2 separate regions of the Homo sapiens genome follow, and region 2 is linked to region 1. The links are contacts of gene promoters, found by promoter capture Hi-C in blood cells and fetal thymus (Javierre and others, 2016). All regions are on one chromosome and are shown on one strand. The core of a region is centred on a gene start or on the middle of the fragment in contact, and the rest is flanking DNA. Distances in the headings are between cores, read along the strand shown.

Region 1 (6,809 bases), core at 627-3,126:
TTCATGTTACCATGAACCAGCGCAGTGGGACCCAGAATTACTGAATTAATAGAAAACTAAATACTTCTCTTAAGCAGCTATGATAACTTAAGAAAGTTTCCAGGGAAGCCGTTTAATGAAAGGAAACAAACAAAAAGATGATTTATTCAGTATCCTGCTCCATTTTTTTGAAAAATTGGAATTCCTACATTCCTTAATTCTTTGTACATCTACACTGTGAAAGCAACACAAACTCAAATGGAGATTGCAGCCCAAATGAACTTAAACCTGCTGTTTAACTTTCTTTTGAAGTTATACATGGAAATGAAACACACCACAGCAACTTTCATGACATCTTGCTAACGAAGTTTGGGTTTTGAAAAATGGAATGACTAGTTGACTAAAAACACACACGCGCGCACACACACACACACACACACACACACAAAACAAGGAGTTTTGAAAATAAGCACTAAGCATCTTTCCAAGGAACTCACTCATTCCAAGAAACTTCGGTTCTAACTCGCAAGCTGGCGGCTGCTGTGAGTGTCCTCTGAATGCAGCCTGGTCAATGTGTCGCCAATCCAGAAAACACACTGCCCTACCTTTGGCCGCGATCTTGCTTTCTCTAAGCATCAAAGGTACCCTCCGCTGTCATTCCTCTGGACGGCCACGCGTGTGGACACGGCCGCGGATGGATGCGTAGGACATTACCAAACAAACCCACACGCTGCACTTTACTTCTTCCCTCCTGGAGTGCCACTAGGGTCCCCGCGAGGAGGGCTGATCGGGTGCGGGGAGGCCGAGTGCACCGGGCGTGTGCTGACCAACTCGGGCCCAGTGACAGTCCTGCGACGAACTTCCACCCTCCCGCGCGGGGCGAGGGGAACGGGCTGCGGGGCCTGCTCCGAGCTCCCGGCTCGATCGGTATCCGCGACCACGACCCCCGGACGCTCTCTTTCAGGTGGGGGTGACAGCGCGCCCCGGGCCCCCGCCGCCCCGGACCCCCTCCTCACCTGTGCTGTCATTCGCCGAGAAACCGGGCGAGCTGAGTTTGGCTCTTTTGGGGTTGGGCGGTCCGTCCAGCAAGTTCTCAGCCATTTTCACCTGCTCGCGAAAACAGCCCCGGGCACGGGCGGCCGGGCCGGCGAGGGCCCGGACGGGGGTCGGGGGCCCTGCCGGCTGCGAGGGAGAGGAGCGAGCGCGGGCCGCGAGCGGGCGGGCGGGCGCCGAGGGAGAGGGAGGGCGCAGGCCGGGTGGGGGAGGCGGCGGCCAAATCTCAGCCACAGCAACAGCGCCCCGCAGCGCTCACCGCCCGCCCCCGGCCGCCGCCGCCGCCGCCGGCCGCGGCCCCCTCATCCCCTGCCCGCCTCCCGAGCGCGACACTCCGCGGTGGGGGCGCCCCGGCGGCCCGGCCGCCCCCCCGGGCCCGGCTGGCAGCGACGGCGCCCGGCCGGGCGGCTCAGGCAGTCCCCGAGAACATGGTGCCGCCGCCGCCGCCGCCTCGCTCCCCCCCCGCGCCCCACTTAATGAATTCGCTCGCGGCCCGACGACGAGGGGGCTCCGGGCTCCGCTCCCGGCCCGCGGCCCGCCGCCGCCGCCGCCGTGAGGAAAAACAATGCGCCGAGCGGGGTCGCCGCCGCCGCCGCGGCCCCCCCACCCCCCGTTCCGCCGCCGCCGCCGCCGCTGCCGCCGCCGCCGCCGCCGGGCTCCGGGAGGCCGAGCCGAGAGGCGAGCGGGGCCGCCGGGGCGGGCGCCGAGGGCCGGGCGGAGCGGGCCGGCCGGGCGGAGCGGGGTGCGCGGGCGGTTGTGGGGCCCGGGACCGGCGGGGCCGAGTAGATCGCGCTCGAAGCCCCGGTCGGGTCCGCGACAAGATGGCGGCTGTTGATTCCTCAATTAAAAAAAAAAGAAAGTTTTTTTTCTTCTCTTTCCAGAGCCTGAACGGGGAGGGGGTGGGGGCGGGGCACGCCGGTGCGTCACCCCCCCGCGGCGTCACCACGCACGGCCCCCGCCCCGCCCCCTCCACCTGCGCCGGCCGTGGCGGAAAGAGCCGAGCGTGCTCGGGCCGAAGGGCTGAAGGCGCGGCCGCCAAGCGTAGGGAAGCTGGCGGCCCGGCGCGGGCCAGGCCTGCGGGGCGCCTGGGCTCCGGGCTGAGCCACAGCTTTTGTTCTGATGGCGACCAGGCGTAGAGGGCCGGGGCTCCGGGCCCCAGCGGGCTCCGGGAGCGGCGGCCTGGCCGCGGGCTGGGCTCTCGGGCGCGGATTCGACGCCAGCCCGGGCCCGCCCGTCCCGCTGGGGCGGCGCTGCGTGTTCCCAGCTCCTCGCGTCCCCTTCCCCAGACCCTCCTAGGTGGCGTCGGTCGGGAACGGTCGGGGCGACCCCAGCCCAGGCCGCGCCACTAGCCTTCGCCGCCGGCCAGGGAAGTGGAATGGCCTCTGCAGGTTACAGACCGCCCTTGGGTCCTGCCGACGAGGTGGGCGGATGGGGAAACTGAGGCGGGGGGCGAGCAACTGCTCCAAAGTGGTCGAGGCAGGAAGTGGCAGGGCCGGGATTCGGGTCCCGCCCTACCTCGTGACACTAGGGAGTGAGGGGGCCTCACGCCTGTTCGCATCCCAAGGCGGCAGGGCAGACACCCTCACCTGTGAGAGCGGGGTGGCGAGGGCCGGCCTGGGCGGAGAAGGGCCCGCGCATCGGGGCTTAAGCCTGGACGCTCAGGCCGCACTCCCCGCCCCAGGCAACTTGCCTGGCGCCTCGCAGGTGCCCCAGACAGGGGTGCGGGCCTGGGGAGTCCCCCACGCGAGACCACAGCCCGCGGGACACTTCTACGAATACCCGAGGTGTTCCCATCCCAGTTAGTTATCTGCCCCTCCAAACTTGCCCGGCTTCCTCATAAAGGTATCAGCAGCTCCACTGTTTCCTAAGCCAGAAACCCGTGAGTCAGCGCGGACTCCTCCCTCTCACCCGCCACGCGCCCCTCTACCCACGGTCTTTACCTGGGAGACTGCTCCTCCCGCACTGTCCCGGTGGCTATGGTGGCAGCTACTCACTTAAGTGTTCTTTGCTCTCCACGTTGCTCCCCACGCAGCACCAGAGTTAACATCCCGAAAAGAGAGGGAGAAAATCTGTTTAAAACAACTCCCTGGCCAGGCGCGGTGGCAGATCACCTGAGGTCAGGAGTTCAAGACCAGCCTGGCCAACATGGTGAAACCCCATCTCTACCAAAAATACAAACATTAGCTGGGCGTGGCGGCGTGCGCCTGTAATCCCAGCTACTCGGGAGGCTGAGATGCGAGAATCACTTGAACTGGGGAGGCCAGTAAGCCGGGATCTCGCCATTGCACTCCATCCTGGGCGACAAGAGTGAAACTCCGTCTCAAAAACAAAACAAAACAAAACAAAATCCCAGACATAGAAAAAGAAAACACTACATAGTCTTTCTTTAAAAAAGAACACGTATGAATTCTCTTAAAAACATAGGTGTATGTACATATGGTGACTGTCCTTGAGTGTCAAGATTGAGTGATCGTTCTGCTTTTCTCTGTTTACCTGTACTGCTCAAAATCTTGGGCCGTGATACCGCTCTTGAATCTGTCTCTTCTACTTTACATGGCTCACTTCACCATCATCATCCTACACCCACTTGGCCAGTAGGCAGTTCACATCATTCAGGCTTTTTTTTTTTTTTTTTCAAATGCTGGTCCCTGTGCTGAGAAGACATGCCTGGCAAATTCTAACTCATCCTCCAGAACCCAGTTCAAATGTCACCTACTCCAGGAAGCCCTCCTAGCCCACTCCTCGGCTCCCATATCACTTCTGGGCTCTGTGAGAGAACACATAACACATCCTGCCCCATCTTCCCCGCCTCCACTGCCCCCGAATTAGTTCATGTTTTTACTTATGCATCAAATAGCTCTTGAGAATCCCAAGGGCATTGAGACTGTGCTAATCCCCTTGGCCAAACATAAAGAGATCCCCATATATTCAAGGAGTTAAAATAGCACACCCTGGAAGCCATAAATGGAAGTATTCAAGAAGTCAGTTTGCACAGGAATGGCAAGAAGTGTATCAGTGGCACAGGGCAGGCCACACCCTGTATCTGAATGCTCTGGGTGTCCGTCTCACCAAGGGTCTGTGAGCTCCTTCGGGGCAAAGATGGTGTCTTAGTCACAGAAACAGTGCTCTGCAAGAAGAAGTAGGTTTGTAAAACTGAATGAGTGATGAGCTGTGTCAGGTGCTCTGAGTCCTAGAGGCCTTCAGGCCACTGAAAAGGGTGGGCCCCAGCCTGAGGTGGCTCCAGGCCACTCTTCAAACGGGACAAGGTGTCCAGCCACCTAGAGGTCTTAGGGCCTGCCTTGGGGCAGTGGAGACACCATGCAGCCCCCCAGGGGTCCATTGGTGAGTGGTTTACACAGAAGTGGGCACAGGAGCTTGAGCCATTCCCTGACAGGTTTCCATTTTACAGAGGAAAGCAAGGGAACTCAGTCGCAAGGACTCAGAAGTAAATAACCCGGACATGGCAAGTCTGGGCCTGGAACCCATGTCCTCACTCTCCAAAGACCCTAGTCTTCCTGTCTCACCATGTTCCACCCTCAAAATATACCGGCTCTGCAGTCCCTTTTTCTGTCTCATTGTTCTCACCTGTATCATTTTGATCAATTCTGGTATTCACTGATACCTGTTTTTTCTTTCCTTTCGATTTCTTCTCCCTTCAGTCTGACTCAAAGAACCCTGAGCTCAGACACTGATGGGGGAATAGCAAGGAGGGAAGCGTGGCTCCTGCCTGCACTCACTTAGCTGGGGATCACCTTCAACAAGTGAGTGCCTTAGGGATACCAGGCCGCTCTGCCATGCCTCCCATGGATAGCACTTCCTACAATCCTGGAAGGAAAAATTGTCCTCATTTCACAGATGAAGAAATAAGGCACAAAGGAGGACAAGCCACCCAGCCACGAAGGGGCTTCACTCCGGTGCACACCTAAGGCTTCCTGCTCTTTCCACAAACCTCACCCTCTCCAGTCTCAGATACCACATTAAAAAACAATCAAAGGACTGGGCATGATGGCTCATGCCTGTAATCCCGGCACTTTAGGAGGCCGAGGTGGAAGGATCTCTAGAGCCCAGGAGTTTGAGACCAGCCTGGGCAACAGTGAGACCCTCATCTCTACAACAAAATGTTAAAAAGTGAACTGGGCGTGGTGGCATGCACCTGTAGTCCCAGCTGCCTGGGAGACCAAGGCAATAGGATCACTGGAGCTCAGGAGGTTGAGGCTGCAGTGAGCTATGATCAAACCACTGCACTCCAGTCTGGGCAACAGTGAGATACTGTCTAAAAAAAAAGAAAAGAAAAGAAAAGAAAGAGAAAGAAATGGAATTGGAATTGTTGGCTGGATGCGGCGGCTCACGCCTGTAATCCTAGCACTTTGGGAGGCTAAGGTGAGTGGATCACTTGAGGTCAGGAGTTCGAGACCAGCCTGGCCAATAAGGTGAAACCCTATCTCTACTAAAAGTACAAATAAATGGCTGGGCATGGTGGGGGGGCACCTGTAATCCCAGCTACTTGGGAGGCTGAGGCAGAATTGCTTGAACCCGGGAGGCGGAGGTTGCAGTGAGCCAAGATCGCACTCCAGCCTGGGCAACAAGAATGAAACTTCGTCTCACAAAAAAAAAAAAAAAAAAAAAAAGAAATGGAATTGTTGCAATTTGATATTGATTGTCCCTTTCTAGGCTTAAATAGATTAAAAGATAGCATCAGGTTTGGACTTTGCCTTCAAGCGATGCAGAACAGCATTGGGGAGAAAAACACAAACAGGACACACATTGAAAAGATAAGCAGAGAATCCAAGTCAGAATAGCACAAAATCATAATAACTGATCCCCCAGGGGTGGGAGTCCCGGGGTTGGGGGGCAGAGGCCTGGGGGAGTAGTCCCAGGAAGGCAGGATTCCAGCCAGTTCCTGGTGGACAGAAGGCAGAATGTGGTCTGGTGGTGTGGAGGGATCCAGACAGAGCTAGGTTCAAGTCCCAAACCTACTGCTTTTTCTTAGCTGTTTTGAAAACAAATACCTCGGCCAGGTGTGGTGGCTCACACCTGTAATCCCAGCACTTTAGGAGGCCAAGGCGGGCAGATCACCTGAGGTTGGGAGTTCGAGACCTGCCTGACCAACATGGAGAAACTCCATCTCTACTAAAAATACAAAATTAGCCGGCCTTGGAGGTGCATGCCTGTAATCCCAGCTACTCGGGAGGCTGAGGCAGGATAATTGCCTGAACCCAGGAGGCGGAGGTTGTGGTGAGCCAAGATTGCACCATTGCACTCTAGCCTCGGTAACAGGAGCAAAACTCCATCTCAAAAAAACAAAAAAAGAAAAAAAAAAACAAATACCTCCTCACCTGCTGAGACAGTTGAGGTGCGGTGGAGATGAGATGGAGGGTGCACAGGGTCCCTGGCACACCAAGGCACCATATAGCTGCTATTTGGGGCAGTGGGAAGCAGGCGCTCAAGGGTGAGAGGCCCCTCTCCTCTCTCTGCCGTCCACATGGGAGGCTGCACCCGCCCCTCTCGTGGGGGACTTGCTGTTGCTTTTTTTTTTTTTTAATTATACTTTAAGTGTTAGGGTACATGTGCACAATGTGCAGGTTAGTTACATATCTATACATGTGCCATGCTGGTGTGCTGCACCCATTTACTCGTCATTTAGCGTTAGGTATATCTCCTAATGCTATCCCTCCCCCCTCCTCCCACCCCACAACAGTCCCCAGAGTGTGATGTTCCCCTTCCTGTGTCCTTGTGTTCTCATTGTTCAATTCCCACCTATGAGTGAGAATATGCGG
Region 2 (7,466 bases), core at 2,084-4,583, 140 kb before region 1:
CCATCCTGGCTAACACGGTGAAACCCCATCTCTACTAAAAAACAGAAAAAATTAGGACTACAGGCATGGTGGCGGGCGCCTGTAGTCCCAGCTACTCGGGAGGCTGAGGCAGGCGAATGGCGTGAACCCGGGAGGCAAGAGCTTGCAGTGAGCCGACATCACGTGACTGCACTCCAGTGTGGGCGACAGAGCGAGACTCTGTCTGCACAAACAAAACAAAACAAAAAAAAAACAAAAAAACCCCCCAAAAAAACAAACAAAAAAAACTCTTCCAGAGTAACTTCGCTATTTGACACCTGTGATCCACACATGGCTGCATACTCCAGAGGTGGTCTCAGACAGCACAGGGGTCTAGGCGCAGGCCGTGCTCACTGCGGTGCACTCTGCGCAACCTTCCTCACAGTGCTGCCTCCTTTTCTGTTATCACTCGATTTGGCCACTGTTCCTACTTTTTCATCACTCCTTGCCATTGCTGCAGTTATGTCCTTGTATGTGCCGTTATGCATATGTGCAAATATTTTTATAGGATACATGTGTGAAAGTAGACTTGCTAAATCTAAAAATGAACACTTTAAATTGTGCCCCTCGCTTTCTGGCATTCAACTTGTATCTTCATCCATGGCGCATGACAGGGGCCTTTTGTGCCTTTTCCTTTCTCATCTCTGGGCTGTATCTTTTTAAGGAAGGCTTTTCATAACTCAACACAATAAAATTATTATCTTACTTTTATCCTGAATGCATCTGCAGTTTTGTTTACTTTTCTCGCTTTTTAATCTACCTGAATTTGGTTTTGCATATGGTGTATGCGAAGGAGATGGTTTTCAATGCAAGATTAAGGAAGCATACCTTTACTCTGTGATCAGACACCACAACGCCTGTGCTGACACACGCTCACACTGAGAGTAGAGCTACCTCTAGTCTCCTAGGCCCTTTTCTCCAGTAATGTTCCATTTCTAGATCTTGGGCTCATCTACCGAATGCCCACGGGTCTTTCTGGATGCTGCGGTGGGAGGGGGCTGGACCTGCTCTGGGGCCACTTGTGCCATTCCGCCCAGTCACCTCCTGCCCCTTTCAGGCAATGACTGTTCTACGGAGGCCTAGTTCTCTGGGTAATTCTGTTTTGGCTACTGAGCCTCTGGCCCAGGGAAGAACTTCCAATTTGCTCAAATGCATTAGCGAACTCACTCAGAGTGAATCCTCTGAAGCAGGGCCTCTCAAATGGAGGCAACTGTGCCCCTCCAGGGGACATCTGGCAATGTCTGGAGACATTTCTGACAGACGTAATGAATTGCTGAGGAAGGTGTTACTGGCACTGAGTGGGCAGAGGCCAGGCATGCTGCTAAAATCCTGTAATGCGCAGGACAGCCCCTAAAACAGAGGGTTACCTGGCCTGAAATGTCAACAGTGCCTCAGTTGAGAAACCGAGCTAAGGAAAAGTATTACAATAGTTTATCAATGAGTGATATTTCACAAGTTTTTAACAGAGGCAGTGTAAGCTATTGCATAACTTTGGATGTTGGTTAACAACAGAGTTTGAACTTGAATTAAGACTCAGTCTCAAGTCTACAGGGTGGCTTCCTCCTCCCCTTCCCCCAGTGCATGGTCCATCCTAGCATTTCCATCTCTCTTCTACTCTGAGCTCCCCAAATGACCCTGGTTCTATTGGGGATCTCCTGAGCAACATGCTAGTCACCTGTCCTGCCAGAGAAAGGTGACAGCTGTAGGGAGCAGCTGGCAAGTCAATGTTAGAACACTGCTGCAGTTGCCGTTCTTGTGTGGGTTTGCTGGTTAACTCGGCAAAAGGCCAGCCTGGCGCGTCAAGCTGCAGAAGGCCATCCCAAGACTTGAGAATTGACTCTATAAAGATTAAATAACCATAAACTTTTGATAACAATGCAATGTGGTCTTAAAAAAAAAAGTCAGCCGGGCGCGGTGGCTAATGGCTGTAATCCCAGCACTTTGGGAGGCCGAGGCGGGCGGATCACAAGGTCAAGAGATTGAGACCGTCCTGGCCAACATGGTGAAACCCGTCTCTACTAAAAATACAAAAATTAGCTGGGCAAGGTGGCGGGCGCCTGTAGTCCCAGCTACTCGGGAGGCTGAGGCAGGAGAATCGCTTGAACCCAGGAGGTGGAGGTTGCAGTGAGCTGAGATTGCACCACTGCACTCCAGCCTGGCGACAGAGCGAGAATGTCTCAAATTAAAAAAAAAAGAAAGTCTACTCATGCAAAGTTACTTCTAGCAGTAACAGGTTGTTCCTTCTATTTCTGCACAGGCACCACCAGCTGCAGTAACATGTCCAGCCAAGTCCACATGCAGGCCAGGCTCCTACCGCTCCTGGGGTGGTGGCTGGTTCCCAGAGGCCATGGCTCATACCCCACTGTAGCAGAAGCCAGCACCCACGGGACAGACCCACGGCAGCCCACATAGGGCCCAGGGTTAGAGAGTGCTGGCCAACATTACACCACACATGCACGCACGAGGGGTGAGGGGTCTTAGGTCTAAACCACTTGAGAATAATCTGTTGATAAATTTTCTCAGAATTTACAAAGTTTACTGCACATCTAACCTTTCATCTAAAACATGCGCTGATCATAAATGCTGACTTTCATATAACAATCAGGCCAAATATTCCCTTTAAGGGTGGACTGAGATGTTTTACACTTGATGAAGATCCACAGCCCAAGGCTGCGAGTCCTGCTCTGAGCTCTGTGCTCAGCAGCCCCGTGGCTGAGATGACCATTCTGAGAAGCACAGACTTCAGGGACTCACAGCTGTGCTGCCTATTCTCAGTGAAGCCCCTGAAGAACATTCTTGCATTCTTACCCTCATGACTGGCCTGGCTCTCCTTAAGGATGAGACAAGAAAAATACAAAGTACTGGGGAAAAAACTAACGAAAATCTTTGACAACCGAACCTCAGAACCATGTGTTGAGAGGAACCAAAGAACAATGGGGACAATTTCTACAAGTTTCTAAAATGTGCAGTCCAGGAAACAGAAAGCTTCCCGAAACTTACTCTTAGCACTGAATTTGTTTTCTTTTCGAGGTCTGCCAGTTTTCTTCAAGCAGTTGTCGCACACAAAACTGCAAAATAATAGTGGTATGATGAGACTGTATATAATGATGTAAATTGTCAAACCAACAAAATGCAGCATTCAGATAGTTTGTTGGCAGTTTAAATCACATTATTATAAAATTAAAGAGTGAAGAGGCAGACTGCTTTGATTCCACAATTCCTAAAGCGGACAAACGCTTAGAACTTAAATTTAGAACCAACTGCCATCTCTCTTAATCGCTGAATTCTTGCTGACAACAATGAATGAGATGCAGTAGCCACTGCAACTGCCCCGCCACTGGCTCTGTGCAGAACTGCCCTCCAGGCCAGGGGAAACAACTCACCCTGAAGGCCAAATGATGTCATAGTGCAGAACGCAAATCTGATGCATCTTCCGGCCACACTCCTTGCAATCAACGAAACTAGGAGGCAAAGAAGGCGCACTGTTAAAGCACACGGAACCACAAGACCAGAGTCACTTGTAGAAGTCTGTGTGTGCGTCCACACCTTGTTCTCTGGGTTACTTTGAGTAGTGCTGACATTAATGCGTGTGTTGGCTGATTCAGCTATATTTTACAATGCATCCGTATGATATCTTCTACAGGAAAAAGCTTTCTTCTTTTGTTTGTACAAGCGCTTCATTCCTCTTTTCTCCCAATCTCCCTTTGCAACCAGAAAGGAAACTTTACTTTTTAAAAATTGCTGCGACAAATACATATTTCACAGGCCGGTATTTCTGACACTGCTACACATTTGCAAGAACAATGCCTTCTCTAGGTGATTTCACATGCCAAAACTGACTTAAAAAATAGAGAACAATACTTTGAGTTCTAAACATGTGCTCTTAAGTCTAAAATTGTTGAGGATACTAATGGGAAACACGGCCAGTTCAGAGCAGCCACGCTAGGCGCGAGGCACAAAAACACCAGTTCTGAGTCAGTTACAAAAGGTGGAATGTGTCAGGCCTACTGGCAAGTTGACAAGGGTTTATTCAAGTAAACACTGGTGAAGCGAGAGAATGGACCACCCATTCCCCACGAATCCTCCACACTGTTCTACGGCAGCCCACAACCACGGCCCACCAGGGCTCCGTCACCTCCAGGAACCGCCTCAACCCAGGAATCTTAAATGCCAAGATGACATTTTGAGGTCAAGACCTTGGGTTTTTGTCAGCTCCCTCCCTTGCTGCCACCACAATGCATACCTCCGAGGATAGGCTGAAGGGACTGGTGAGTAATGTGATTCCCTGTGTGCTCCTGAGCTTTGAGCTACAGCTCCTCTAAAGTGTGCCCCTGCCCTCGTCCCCTTAATCTGTCCATTGCACGTGCTATGCAAGCCCTCAGCCATGGGTCTACCCTCATCTGGCTTCTCTGCCCAGTCTGCTGGAGGGAAAGAAAAGACACACACACAGATCTGTGAAAAAAAAAACACACACACACAAATGGCGGCACCCGTTCATGGTCCTATGGCACTCTCTGACAGCCCGGCTCTGTCTGGCTACCTCTCCCTTCCACGTGGCAGCTGCTCTGAATCTGCACTCCTTTCCTCCAGTGCTTATCCTCCACAAGCTCTGTCTTTGACAACTCAGCCACTGAGCTCATCCCCAACGCTAAGAATTTCAAAGGTTGGGGCCAAGAACTTCCTCAATTCCTGTGCCGTCTCCAAAGGTCCCCTGCTCTCAACTCTTCCCTCCCATGTCAGGGGAAAGGAGTGTCCCCCAAAACTACACTGGGGACAGGTGCAGTGGCTCACACCTGTAATCCTAGCATGTGGAGAGGCTGGGGTGGAAGGATTGCTTTACTGGGAGTTTGAGACCAGCCTGGGTAAAATAGGGAGACCCCATTTCTACAAAAAATTTAAAAATTAGCTGGGCATGGTGGTGTGTGCCTGTAGTCCCAGTTACTTAGAAGGCTGAGCTGGGAGGACTGCTTGGGTCTGGGAGGTTGTGGCTGCAGTGAGCTATGACTGCACCACTGCACTCCAGCCTGGGTGACACAGCAAGACCCTGTTTCAAAAACAACAAACAAAATCCAAACAAACAAAACACACTGCATATTCTAGACCCCATGACATCCATTTTGAATTTCCCCCTTTCTCCCACTCCCAATTATTATGGGCCAACTAGATGTCTCCCCTTCCCTCAGTCCCCCAGCAAGCCCCCCTGCCTGGCTCCAAAAGCTCTTGCTTTAATTGGTGTTTCAGTTTCTTGCCTTCTCCTGCTTTGTGTCTCTTAACTAACTTCTCTACTACAGAACAATGTCTTCTCCTCTTCTGTTCAGTTCACCTCATAGACCAAAGATGACCCTCTTACACTAGAACCAGTGCTATTCTTCAAAACCTCCTCAGCACATTATAGGATAAAGTCTAAACGTCAAGAGACAGTGTAATGGCCCTTCATGAAGTTAACCTCTGCCTACCAACCACCCACTCTAGGGGCCTTGTAGTTTTATTGAGCAACCTGTGTTCTTTCATGCCTTTGTTTCTAGAATGCTCTGCAGCTTCAATGTAAATGTCATCTTGTCCAGGAAACCAGGCGCAACTGTGGTGATGCCGCTCTGCCCAAGCAGGGTCCCTTCTGTCTGGGACTCACTTGTACTGTCTCCTGCTGCAGGCTGTGCCATTACCCAGCTGTCTCTCTAGACTACAACCAGCAGGAAGGAGACCCCTTCACTCATCCATGTGTTCCCTCTGCCTGGCACCTACTACTTGAATGTAATATATTTTGAAGTTGAAAAGTAGATATAAATTGGCCGGGCACGGTGGCTCACGCCTGTAATCCCAGCACTTTGGGAGGCCGAGGTGGGTGGATCACGAGGTCAGGAGTTCAAGACCAGCCTGGTCAAGATGGTGAAACCTCGTCTCTACTAAAAATACAGGCTGGGTGCGGTGGCTCACACCTGTAATCCCAGCACCTTGAGAGGCCGAGGCGGGTGGACCACGAGGTCAGGAGATCGAGACCATCCTGGCTAACATGGTGAAACCCCGTCTCTACTAAAAATACAAAAAAATTAGCCAGGTGTGGTGGCACATGCCTGTAATCCCAGCTACTCGGGAGGCTGAGGCAGGAGAATCGCTTGAACCCGGGAGACGGAGGTTGCGGTGAGCTGAGATTGTGCCATTGCACTCCAGCCTGGGCAACAAGAGTGAAACTCCATCTCAAAAATAAAAATAAATACATACATACATACATACATAAGTTAGCTGGGCGTGGTGGCGGGCACCTGTAATCCCAGCCACTTGGGAGGCCAAGGCAGAGAATTGCTTGAATCTGGGAGGCGGAGGCTGCAGTGAGCCGAGATCGCGCCACTGCACTCCAGCCTGGGGGACAGAGCAAGACTTGTCTCAGGGGGAAAAAAAAAAAGGAAAGAAAAGTAGATATAAATAATAATGAAACTATAAAGCCAAGGAGAGAAAGACACAATGTGAAAAGAAAGGTGGAAAGTCAGGAAAAACAATCCGATGGTCATGAGAGGGGTGGGCGCTCTGCCCTGGCATCTCGCCAAGACTACAGCTCTAGGATTTCACATCATCGTCCTGTCTGTGTACCATGTGCTGGTAGAGATGAAGTAACCTGCCAAAAGTCAAGCTAGGTTTCCAGAGGTGGCCTGGGTAGAAATCTGTGCTTGCCACTCTAGCCACTGGCTTCCCTGGAGAGGGTCAGGATAGGGAGAGCAGGGTCTGTTTCTTGCCTTGGCTGAGTCACAGCCCACACTTCCCAAGTAGCCAACGCTCCTGGAGCCTGTGCTCACCCTGGGGACAAAAAATAGCCAGTATCGCCATGCCAATTTGGAGCGCCCTCAGAACTTTACATTGGGGACCTGGGAAGAGGCTACCACACTGAAAAAAATCTGAAGTCTCTTTAGGGGCTGTTATGAAGCAAGGTTAGCAAATGCAGCACTCTCACTCATCACTGTAGAAAAGTGCTTAACAGGGCCGGGCGCGGTGGCTCACGCCTGGAATCCCAGCACTTTGGGAGGCCGAGACAGGCACATCACCTGAGGTCAGGAGATCGAGACCATCCTGGCTAACACAGTGAAACCCCGTCTCTACTAAAAATACAAAAAATTAGCCAGGCGTGGTGGTGGGCGCCTGTAGTCCCAGCTACTCGGGAGGCTGAGGCAGGAGAATGGCGTGAACCCGGGAGGCGGAGCCTGCAGTGAGCCGAGATCGTGCCACTGCACTCCAGCCTCGGGGACAGAGCGAGACTGTCTCAAAAAACAAAACAAAACAAAAACAACAACAAAAAAAGTGCTTAACAATGGCAAGAAAATGTGCCAAGCTTTACATTATTTGAGAAAGCAGTTTCCAAGAGGTTTTCTTTCTGGTATTTCCCTTTAAACGATACTACTAGTACTACCCCACCAAATACTCCTAACCTTTGGTCTCTAAAGATTCATGCTAAATGGCTT

The links. The method cuts DNA at HindIII sites, captures the fragments that hold promoters and counts their contacts. A CHiCAGO score of 5 or more calls a contact.
Region 2: a contact is called between a fragment that was not itself captured here and the fragment with the promoter of CREBBP in region 1, in 2 of 17 cell types (endothelial precursors and M0 macrophages). The highest score is 7.0, in endothelial precursors.

What each region holds. Positions count from the first base shown.
Region 1 is chr16:3,878,837-3,885,645 of GRCh38, forward strand. It overlaps CREBBP (CREB binding lysine acetyltransferase), which reads right to left and starts at 1,877. Exons shown (of 31, transcript NM_004380.3): 1 at 996-1,877. The coding sequence starts at 1,080. RefSeq lists silencers at 866-915, 996-1,045, 1,086-1,395, 1,733-1,782, 1,803-2,352 and an enhancer at 1,556-2,132. The HindIII fragment of the contact is 11,013 bases long and covers 1-6,809 here.
Region 2 is chr16:3,741,876-3,749,341 of GRCh38, forward strand. It overlaps CREBBP (CREB binding lysine acetyltransferase), which reads right to left. Exons shown (of 31, transcript NM_004380.3): 22 at 3,402-3,479; 23 at 3,019-3,086. Among named protein-coding and RNA genes, the nearest start is that of TRAP1, 28 kb to the left of the region's middle. The HindIII fragment of the contact is 665 bases long and covers 3,002-3,666 here.